Regions from separate parts of the Homo sapiens genome. Here all the other regions are linked to region 1. Evidence: promoter capture Hi-C in 16 types of primary human blood cells and fetal thymus (Javierre and others, 2016). All regions are on one chromosome and are shown on one strand. Each heading gives the region's core, a stretch centred on a gene start or on the middle of the fragment in contact. The rest is flanking DNA. Distances are from core to core; before and after follow the strand shown.

What was found. Contacts are between HindIII fragments. The CHiCAGO score rates a contact against its expected background, and 5 or more counts as called.
Region 2: a contact is called between a fragment that was not itself captured here and the fragment with the promoter of NANP in region 1, in 2 of 17 cell types (monocytes and total B cells). The highest score is 7.5, in monocytes.
Region 3: a fragment that was not itself captured here is called in contact with the fragment with the promoter of NANP in region 1 in 1 of 17 cell types (monocytes); the score reaches 5.7 in monocytes.

What each region holds. Positions count from the first base shown.
Region 1 is chr20:25,622,261-25,625,530 of GRCh38, forward strand. NANP (N-acetylneuraminic acid phosphatase) reads right to left here and starts at 1,754. Exons shown (of 2, transcript NM_152667.3): 1 at 1,599-1,754. The coding sequence starts at 1,688. ZNF337-AS1 (ZNF337 antisense RNA 1) reads left to right here and starts at 1,785. Exons shown (of 4, transcript NR_126465.1): 1 at 1,785-1,875. RefSeq lists enhancers at 1,027-1,702, 1,674-1,843 and a silencer at 1,444-1,503. The HindIII fragment of the contact is 6,234 bases long and covers 1-3,270 here.
Region 2 is chr20:25,189,568-25,192,837 of GRCh38, forward strand. LOC101926889 (a long non-coding RNA gene) reads right to left here. Exons shown (of 6, transcript NR_109994.1): 2 at 651-735. Among named protein-coding and RNA genes, the nearest start is that of ENTPD6, 4.5 kb to the right of the region's middle. The HindIII fragment of the contact is 3,902 bases long and covers 1-3,270 here.
Region 3 is chr20:25,316,144-25,319,413 of GRCh38, forward strand. It overlaps ABHD12 (abhydrolase domain containing 12, lysophospholipase), which reads right to left. Exons shown (of 13, transcript NM_001042472.3): 5 at 905-935. Among named protein-coding and RNA genes, the nearest start is that of PYGB, 70 kb to the left of the region's middle. RefSeq lists enhancers at 834-1,443, 2,557-2,616, 2,647-2,886 and a silencer at 3,237-3,270. The HindIII fragment of the contact is 6,692 bases long and covers 1-3,270 here.

The sequences.
Region 1 (3,270 bases), core at 504-3,003:
AGACATGCACGGGGCATGTGCAGTGGTGGACAGACAGCGTACGAGGGTGGAAGGTGCTATAGTTCGCTGAGTGGACACTGCAACCATGGGCTTCCCAAGTATTACAGGGTTATTGAGGACTAATATAATTCACATTTTATGAAGATATAAGGCTCCGAGTGGTTAATTCCTTGAGGCACTTTCAGCTAGGTTTTGGGAGAGCTGTGATTCATATTCAAATGTCTGATTTTAAAGCCCAAACTCTGGGCCTACAGCAAGAATTGGCCTAAAGCAATAATTTAATTGAAATGCACAGGACTCAGCTTACTAATAACACACAGGTAAATATGTAACATCTGCAGCGAGAGATACTGGAGGCAATATGGCACAGGGTGGCACCCCTGAGGTGGAGGCCAACAAGTTAAAAGTGTGGAATGCCTCAGTAAAGTCATGAAGACAGACTTTAAAAATGTCTACTGATTCCGGCATTTTGGGAATGCCTAGTGATCCAGCAAGTCTATTTCAGTCTAGCGGTGAAGATAAAGCGACATTACGATGGATTTAGTAATAAATAGGAGGTAGAGACAAGGAGATAACGGGTATAGATTTCTCCGGGAAAACATGGCTGTCAAGAGAGACAGGCAACATCTACAGCAGGAAGAATAGCCCAAAGGGAGGCATCCTTTTTACAGCTTTTTTAAAACTATAGGGCAAACATGAATATGCGGCAGGAGTGGAATGCAGCTAAAAAGAAAACGGATGAGGTAGTGGAAGATCCAGGGACACAAAAACTAACTGATGAAGCATGAAGAGGACGGGGCGCTCAGGTTTGGATGAATTAGCTTTTGAAAGTGAGTTTTCCACATCTGATAAATCCTTCCCTTTCCCCTTGAAGCTGAAGGTAGAGAAAGGGAAGCCGGGGTGGACTGGGGCTGGAACACGGGAAGGTCTGAAAGCGCCTCCGCGCGTGTAGAGGGGCAGTGCCGCGGAGGAGCGCCTCAGGAAGGGCATGCCCTCGCAGCACGGGCTTTTGCTGTGTCACGTGTCAGAAAGCCACGGTGACCACCACCCCGCCAGGGAGGCCAGAAGAAGTTCTGCGGCGACAATTCTCTAAAGCAGGGCTTAAGTCCAGGCTCGGTACTGACAGCCGTGTCCCTTCTTGGGTCAACACTGGGGCTAACTCTACCATGTCTCCTCCCAGCAACCCCGAAAGTCGCATGGGGGACACGACCCTCTGTCGAGCTCCACACCGACAGTCTGACCGGGGGCGGGACCAGCGCCTGGTCTCGCGGCTTTGCTGTCGCCTCCCGCGCCCACGGGCACCTCCGCCACCGTGGCAGCCGTCACGGAGCCCTTCCGCGTCCCGAGCGCCAAGGCACCTGCGAGCAGCCGCTCCAGGGCTCGAGATTGGGTGACAAGCGGCCGCCAGGCCAGGGAAAGCAGACCCGCAGGGCCCGCGCGCCTCCAGCCACCTCCGCACCCGCACGCTCCACAGGTTTCAACCAGCAAGAGCGGCCCGCGGCGCCGGGGTGGAAGTGGGGTCAAGGGGAGGTGAGCGTGCAGGACGGGGCGGGGCGCACTGACCCCGCCCAGAGGAGCGCCATGGGTGGGGACGTTACCTCCAACATGCCTCTCCTGCTCGCCCCGGCCGTGTCGATGAGAGTGTTGTCCAAGTCAAAGAAAACCGCCCGCACGCGGCTCAGCCCCATAGCGCCGGCCGCTGGCGCGAACCGTAGCCTTGCCACCGCCGCCTGCGCATGCGCAAGGCGGACTGCCCAGAGAGACGTGGGAGGAGCCGCGAAGTCACCAGACCATCTCCCGGCGCGGGTGGAATTCCCGCGATCTGTCTCATTCCCTGCGCCGCCGAGAAAAGTGAGATCCCGCGAGACTCCCAGGGTATGGTCTCTCAAGAGCCCTGGAAACGTGTGTCGGCGCCGCCGGATGCGGCGACTTCTCAGTGGCTGTGGCTGGCGTTGGTCCGAAGCGTGGTGTTCTTCCCTGGTGTCTTTCTGCTTATCTCTTTCCTCCCTGGGCCCTCCGGCGCGAGGGACCGTCATCACCTCCCCGAGAGAGGTTGTCCGCGCTGCCAGGCGCTGGGCAGCAGGCTCTCCGGGTGGCCGGGCGGGCGGCGCGGAGACGTCGGCGGGCCTGATGTCTGCCTTGAGCGCCCGCGGTCCTAGCCTGCCTGTACGCGCAGGTCACTGTAGGTGATCTGGGGACGGGGGAAGGTGGAGCCTGCGCCTTCCCGCCTCGCGCCATTTGCGGCCTTCGCCGGGGTGGAATCCCTGTCTGCCTGGGCCCGCGCCAGCACGTTTCTGAAGGATGTGACTTGGGTCTCTTACAACCCGTTTAGTACCTGTGCCCTAAGACGGAGGGGCTGTGTAGTGGCTGCCCCATGTTTTGCCCTTCCTGATTGTTTTCCTGAAACCTTGCGTTCTCAGGTCTTTGGATGCCTTTTACTCGGTTGTTTTCAGGCATAGCAAGAGGTTGAGGGACGTCGACCGCCTTTTAAACCCGCGGAAGGGCTGTAGCAACTCTTGTCTCCTAGTGCTGGCAGAACGGGGATCGTAACACTAATCTCTAATCTTTGTCTCTCTTGGGTACCTTTACTGTAATTTGGATATGTGGTCATCATTAGTGACCAGAAATTGACTGTCAGGTACAGGCCAATTACCTGATTTTGTTTAGCCAGTGAGCTAAGTGGTTTTTTTTATTTTTTAATTTATTTTTATTTTTATTTTCGAGATGGAGTCTTGCTCTGTCACCCAGTCTGGCGTGTAGTGGCACGATCTTGGCTCACTGCAACCTCCGCCTCCCGGGTTCAAGCAATTCTCCGGCTTCAGCCTCCTGAGTAGCTGGGATTACAGGCGCATGCCACCACCCCCCGGCTAATTTTTGTATTTTTAGTAGAGACGGAGTTTCACCATGTTGGCCAGGCTGGTTCTCGAACTCCTGACTTCGTGATCCACCCGTCTTGGCCTCCCAAAGAGCTGGGATTACAGGCGTGAGCCACCGCGCCTGGCTAAGGGTGATTTTTACATTTGTAAATGGATTTAAAAAATCAAAATAACAGTGTTTTGTTACACATGAAAATCAAGAAATTTTAGTGCCCATAGTTGCATTAGAACACAGCGCACACATTCATTTCTGTATCGTCTGTGGCTGCTGTTGCCATACAGAAGCAGACAGAGTTGAGTAATTGTAAGCGAGACCACGTGGCTGGAAATCCTAAAATATTCATTATTTAGCTCTTTAGAGAAAAAAATTGCCAGTCTCTCACCTCGCTGGTGG
Region 2 (3,270 bases), core at 443-2,942, 430 kb before region 1:
ATCCAGCAATGTATTTTAAAAGTATGCTTATTTGGGAATGCGGGAATGATTCAACGTTAGAACTTATCATATTAACAAATTAGTGGGCCGGCGCGGTGGCTCACGCCTGTAATCCCAGCACTTTGGAAGGTTGAGGCAGGTGGATTGCCTGAGGTCAGGAGTTCGAGACCAGTCTGGCCAACATGGTGAAACCCCGTCTCTACTAAAAATACAAAAGAATTAGCTGGGCATGCCAGCGTGTGCCTGTAATCCCAGCTACTTGGGAGGCTGAGGCAGGGGAATTGCTTGAACCAGGGAGGTGGAGGTTGCAGTGAGCCAAGATCATGCCACTGCACTCCAGCCTGGGTGACAGAGCGAAACTCCATCTCAAACAAAAAAGAAAATTAGTGGAGAAAAATAATAATATCATGTATAGATGAAGGAAATGCACAAAATAAAACTGAACATTCATTAATGATTTTTTAAAACTCTTAAACTAGAAATAGAAGAACATTTTCTTAATCTGGTAGACGACAACCTATACAATGTAAAATGCTAAAGGCCCTCATGGAGAGAAGACAGTCCATTAACAGCTACTCTAAATGGGACAATCTGTTCACACCAGTCTCCCCCTACCAGGACAGTCGACCAATTGCCAAGAACAGTATTACCTGTTTTACAGCTGCACTTCATGTGGTCCCAACAAGACTATCACTACAGTGCAAGATGACATCTGTTGGATCATCCATCGGGAAGCTAAAAGAGACCACACAATGGCCCATGTGGCAGGCAGGAATCATAAATGCCAAGTTCTCTTGGGGAAGAGTAGGGTTTCCCTCACATTTTTTCTTGTTTGTAGTAGATTTTGGAAAATGGAAGGCTAGCCATGAGCAGGGAAGATCTGACTTTTTTGGTGAGTTACAGGAAAAATATTTGGTAGAGAAAGCAGTGATTTGTGGTTATAGATTTCAGGGAACCAAAGGAAGAAATCAGAGCAGTGGCTAAGATGTTTTGTTTGATATTATTAACAAATGACCTATGAGTGATGGTATCTTAGGTTGAATTCTTCCAAAACAAATTCTAAAGAATGATTTGAGTGCAAGTAGTTTATTTAGGAGGTGACACCAGGAAAAACCAGTAGAGGAGTGGGGCAGTGAGACAGGGAAGGGAGGAAAGCCAGTGTGGGTTACCGCTCTGGACCACTGTGTTCAATGCCAAGTAGACATGCCGGAGAGTTGTCCTGAGTGGAAAGGGAGCCAGGGTCTTTGCACCTGACATGGGCTGAAACTGCTCTCAGAAGCATTACCTCCTGGCACTTCCTCTGCCAAAAGAAGGCCCTGCTGTGGAGAGTCACGGGAGCACACAGTGGGACAGACACAGGCAGGAGGCCTGGCAGCCTCTGCTACAGAGACACTGCACAGTCCATGTTCTGTTCCTTCACTGAGCAGACAGCTTTGCAGCTGTCCTCCTGGACTTTTGTGAGTAGGTGGACACATGTGAGCAAGCCACACACAATAGAGGGCTTCCTCCACTATTACTCAAGTTAGGTAAATTGAGGCAGCTTGGTAACTCACCAACCTCTTCTAAAACATTCTCACCCCCAAAAAGCAGGGCCAGGCACTCCCCCCTGCTGTCAGAACACTTGCATACATGTTCTGCTGGAGCCCATGTCTCAGTTATCTGCTCCTGCATTCCTAGGGCGGGTGCCAATTGGCTTCCTTCACCTTCTGCCTGCAGGGCTGAGCTGCTTCTGGCTGACAAGTGAAAACATTAGAAGCACCCTCATCAATCCATCCATTTCTTCAAGAAATATTTTATATGTTGACTTCATTTGAGTTTACCCAAAGGCAGTTTGAGTCAAGAGCTTAGATGCAGGTAGTTGACCTGGGAGGTGATTCCCAGAAGCAGGAGAGAGAGAGAGAGAGAGAACCGAGAAAGATCGGAGGACCAACCCAAGGGGGCATTACTGAGCTGATCACCACTAAGGGTCACTGAGGCTCACTTCTACTGAGGACTCAGAATTGGTCCTCTGGGGACAGAAGGCTGAGGTATATATCCCCAGTTAATTAAGGGTTGCTGTGAAGGAGGTTCACTGTGCATTGGTTACCAACATGTCTGTGTCCAGTGAGAGAGAACGCATTCATACTCAATAAGTTATATGAAGCAAATTTATTACTTACAGACAGGCAGCAAGGGACAAGAGGAGCATTCATTGCAAGCTGGTTGCCTGAGGCTCAGGAAATCTGCTCAGGGCAAATGGAGTCTCAACTGGGCATGCCCCACTTGCACCACAGACGAGGAATGCCAGAGAGCAGCCTGCCCTGGGTTTAACATCCCAGGGTAATGTGATTTGCTGGGCAGTGTTGAAGGACATCCTATTTTCAGCAGGAGACTGGAACTGACCTTGGGCTGTTCAGCCAGTTCTCCCTTATCTCAAGATGCTGCAATCCTAGCACATTCTGCAGTTATTCCTGAGAACTACATGGTAAAAAGGGGACTGGGTCTGTCCAAGGCCACCCAAACTGCCCTGCAGTTGCCCCGGGGATGTTAAATTTCCCTGAATTCCAGGCTGCGCCTGCTCCCAAGGCTTCCGGAGAAAGTCGTAAGATAAGCCCTAAAGAGGACAGCAACGAGATGCTTGAGGTGGCAGCATTCAGGGGAACTCTCCACAACAATCAGAGAGCTGACGGCAGAGGCAGGCAAGGGACATTAGCACCAATAATGTATGCTACAGGCACCTACCATGTTCTAGACAGAGTGCCAGACATGCAGCAGTGAGCAGGACAGACCAACTTATTTGTTCTCATGGAGCTTCATTTCAGTAGTGGAACAAAGAATTTACCAATAAACAAGTCAGCAAACAAGTAATGACGGGTGTTGTGTCTTTGCAAAAATTATGACAATAAGAAAAATATGACATAGGAAAATTACAACAGTGAAAGAAAGCTGGCCTAACCGACTCCATCTTCTAACCTCCAATCTGCCTTTGCACATTCCTGGGCATAGGCCAAACAAATCTGTGGAGAAACTTAGTTTATAATTTCACTTTAAACCAAATATAACAGCCCCCCCCTGAAACAAACCTCCTTCTTGCTTGGGGACCAGACCACCTTTGTGAAACTAACAAATTAGCCACAAGATTAAAATTTATGGGCCGGGCGCGATGGCTCACACCTGTAATCCCAGCACTTTGGGAGGCCAGGGTGGGCAGATCACCTGAGGTCAGTAGTTCAAGACCAGCCTGGCCAACATGGTGAAACCCTGTCTCTACTAAAAATATAAAAATTAGCC
Region 3 (3,270 bases), core at 268-2,767, 310 kb before region 1:
ACCTGGTTTCTCTTTTCCTTTTTTTTTGTTTTTTGAGACGGAGTCTTGCTCTGTTGCCCAGGCTAGAGTGCAGTGGTGCCATCTTGGCTCACTGCAACCTCCGCCTCCCAGGTTTAAGCAATTCTCTGCCTCAGCCTCCTGAGTAGCTGGGATTACAGGCGCCCGCCACCACGCCTGGCTAATTTTTTTTGTATTTTTAGTAGAGACGGGGTTTCACCATCCTGGCCGGCTGGTCTTGAACTCCTGACCTTGTGATCCACCCATCTTGGCCTCCCAAAGTGCTGGGATTACAGGCGTGAGCCACCACACCCAGCCGTCTCTTTTCATTTTATACACAAGTAACGTAACATTGAAAAACAATTTCCAGTGCTGCTTATGTAGTCTGCCAATATCTGCACTTGGTCTACAAAGCCCATACATTCTGATGTTGGGGCCCAGGCCTAGAAGCAGTGTGATGGGCAGTCACAGCAGAGGCAGCCAAGGCCCTACCTTCCAGCACGCCCATCCAAAGGCAGTGTTAAAAAGCTCAACACGCCTGTCATCCCAACACTTTGGGAGGCCAAGGTGGGAGGCCCAGGAGTTCGAGACCAGCCTGAGCAACATAGGGAGACCTCATTTCTACAAAAAAACAAACAAAAATTAGCTGGGCGTGGTGGCGGCATGCACCTGCAGTCTCAGGAGGCTGAAGCAGGAGGATAGTTTGAGCCCAGGAGGTCGACGCTGCAGTGCGCTGTGACTGTACCACTGCACTCCAGCCTGGGCAACAGAGGAGGAGGACCCTGTCTCACACACACAAACAGCCCAGCAATAGTTAACTCTCAAGCTGTGAGTCTGGTGACTCCCTTCACTTCCTGCCCTGGAAAGAACAGCCCAGGGAACAGGTGTGGGTGCTGCCTGCACTCACCTTGTAAAGCTCCACGCGGTGGTCGCCTCCTCTGGAGAAGAAAACAGGACATGGTGTGAGCACATCTTCTCAGAGTTGGGCCCCAGGTCAACTTGTCCTCCATACCCCAAACCAGGGGGAGGCCAATGAAAGAGGGCAGAACCTCTTCCTTGGGTCCCCCTAAGTAGCCCCACACTCGCCTCTGGCAGTGCTGTGCCAAGGGGGAGATGGTCTTAGCACTTTGGGGGAGATTTCTTAATGACTGCTTTTATTTTTCAGTAGGTAATGCACACCTACAGCCCCAAACTAGAAAGACACTAAAGGAAACACAGCAAGGCCTCATCCACCACACCCCAGACCCTCCCAGCTTCCCTGTGCCAAGGACACCCTGTGTAGACAGAGGCTGTGCTCCAACAGGACCCGTATGGGCGACTTCTGCCCTCACTTCTTGCTCCGCACGTCTCAGCCGACCTTCAGAACTCTGCTTAGCCACACCACCCTGGCCTCTCATGGTCATCTTGACTGTTTCCCACCTGGCACTAACTTCTGTTTGCTGCTGTGGCCACCCTGCCTTACAGCCCTTCACATGTGTGTGCTCTGCACATGGGATATGCTCCTAGAATCTCCCCAGGGAGGCCCTGAAGTGCCGGAACGGCTGCCTCCCGCCCCTCACAGCCAACTACAGCTTCACCGTGCATGTCGCTACTGAGACTAAGTGGGCTCGGCACACACCCTCCCATTTGTACTTCCTTGTCTGAGGCCTGTCTAGGCTCCCTTCCCTCTTTCTTTCCAGTTGTTGGCCAGCTGTTAACCTGGACCGACCCCACAGCAGGGACATGGGCCACCTGGGAGGAGGGCGGGTCCACACTCTCCACACTCCCTAGCCGTGCTCCTCCTTCCTCAGGAGCGGTCTCAACATTTCAGGTATGGGGGCGGGAGTGTTGCTGGTTGGACACCAGGATGAGATGGAGGAGGAAGCCAATAAAGTACAGAAACAAAAATATAAAGGGTCAGGTGCGGTGGTTCACACCTGTAATCCCAGCACTTTGGGAGGCCGAGGTGAGCAGATCACTTGAGCTCAGGAGTTTGAGACCAGCCTGGTCAAATGGTGAAACCCGTCTCTACTAAAAATACAAAAATTAGCTGGCCATGGTGGTGGGTGACTGTAATCCCAGCTACTCGGGAGACCGAGGCAGGAGAGTCACTTGAACTCAGGAGGCTGAGGTTGCAGTGAGTCAGGATTGTGCCACTGCACTCCAGCCTGGGCAACAGAGTGAGACTCTGTCTCAAAAATTAAAATAAAAAATAAAGGAATGAGTTTCAAGGCAAGGAGGAAACACTGCAAAATATTTTCAGTTATCATTGTAAGAGTTCACAGTGGCTCTAAGTTTCTAAAATTTCCTACATTAAGCAAAAAAGGAACAGTTGCTGGGAATCCAGGGGGTCTGGACCTCAGGGGGACCCGGGTGGTGGATCCCGCAGACCAGCGAAACCCCAGTGGGATGCACAGGACAAAGAAAGCAGGCAACGTGGGGGTGGCGAGGACTGCAGCCAGGCAGTCTCTGCAGGATTGGGAGGGGGCAGCAAACACTGAAAGTCACGGCATCCCTTTCTAACCTAAAGTTATAGGCAGGATCTTTTTTTTTTTTTTTTAACCATGTGATGGGCACTGCAGAACTGAACCTTATTCACAGCCAACCACAGTTCTGTCATTTATAAAAAGATGCTGCAAGAGCTGTTTGTAGCCACTTGCTCTTTGAAAAGCAGAAGAGAAACCCTCTGCAGCTTGTCCCAGACAAAGAAGAAAGGAAACTGTGCAGCACATGCATGATTCTGTAGCTAGACACGCCATCCCTGACACAGAAACCGCTTCACGGGCCATGCCGCCAGGCTCTTTCAGCAATGCTCTCTGCAGGGTTCCACCATGCAGACCCCACCTAGGCCTGCTTTCCCTTCCAGAAGGGCCCAGCACAGCTCTCCTTGCTGGCTCTGCCTATAAAATGTTTGCCCCCAGCCCTGACATACCCTGGTGCCACACGGGACCTCGGCCCTGGCCCCGCAGCAGCCCTGTCTCCGTGCTGGGTCTGCCTCTGTGCTGGCTCCTGGCTGCCTCTCTCACACACGAAGACCTTGGTGGTTTTCAAACAATGCTTTGTTCAGAAAATGTATCCCCTCCGCACCCACCCTGGGTTCTCCCACAGAGGCTCTTCTGAACAGCAATCACATGGTGTGGAAGGAGCACCCTTTTAAGGCAGGGAGGCCAACTCCAGGGCAGCCAGTGGAAAGGACAAGCCATTAGACCCACTCAGGAAAAGCATCTGAGATAAAACTGGGCAGGGCTGATTAACCAAAGAGTGCATGAACTTCAGCAACAGCCCGTTAGGGTG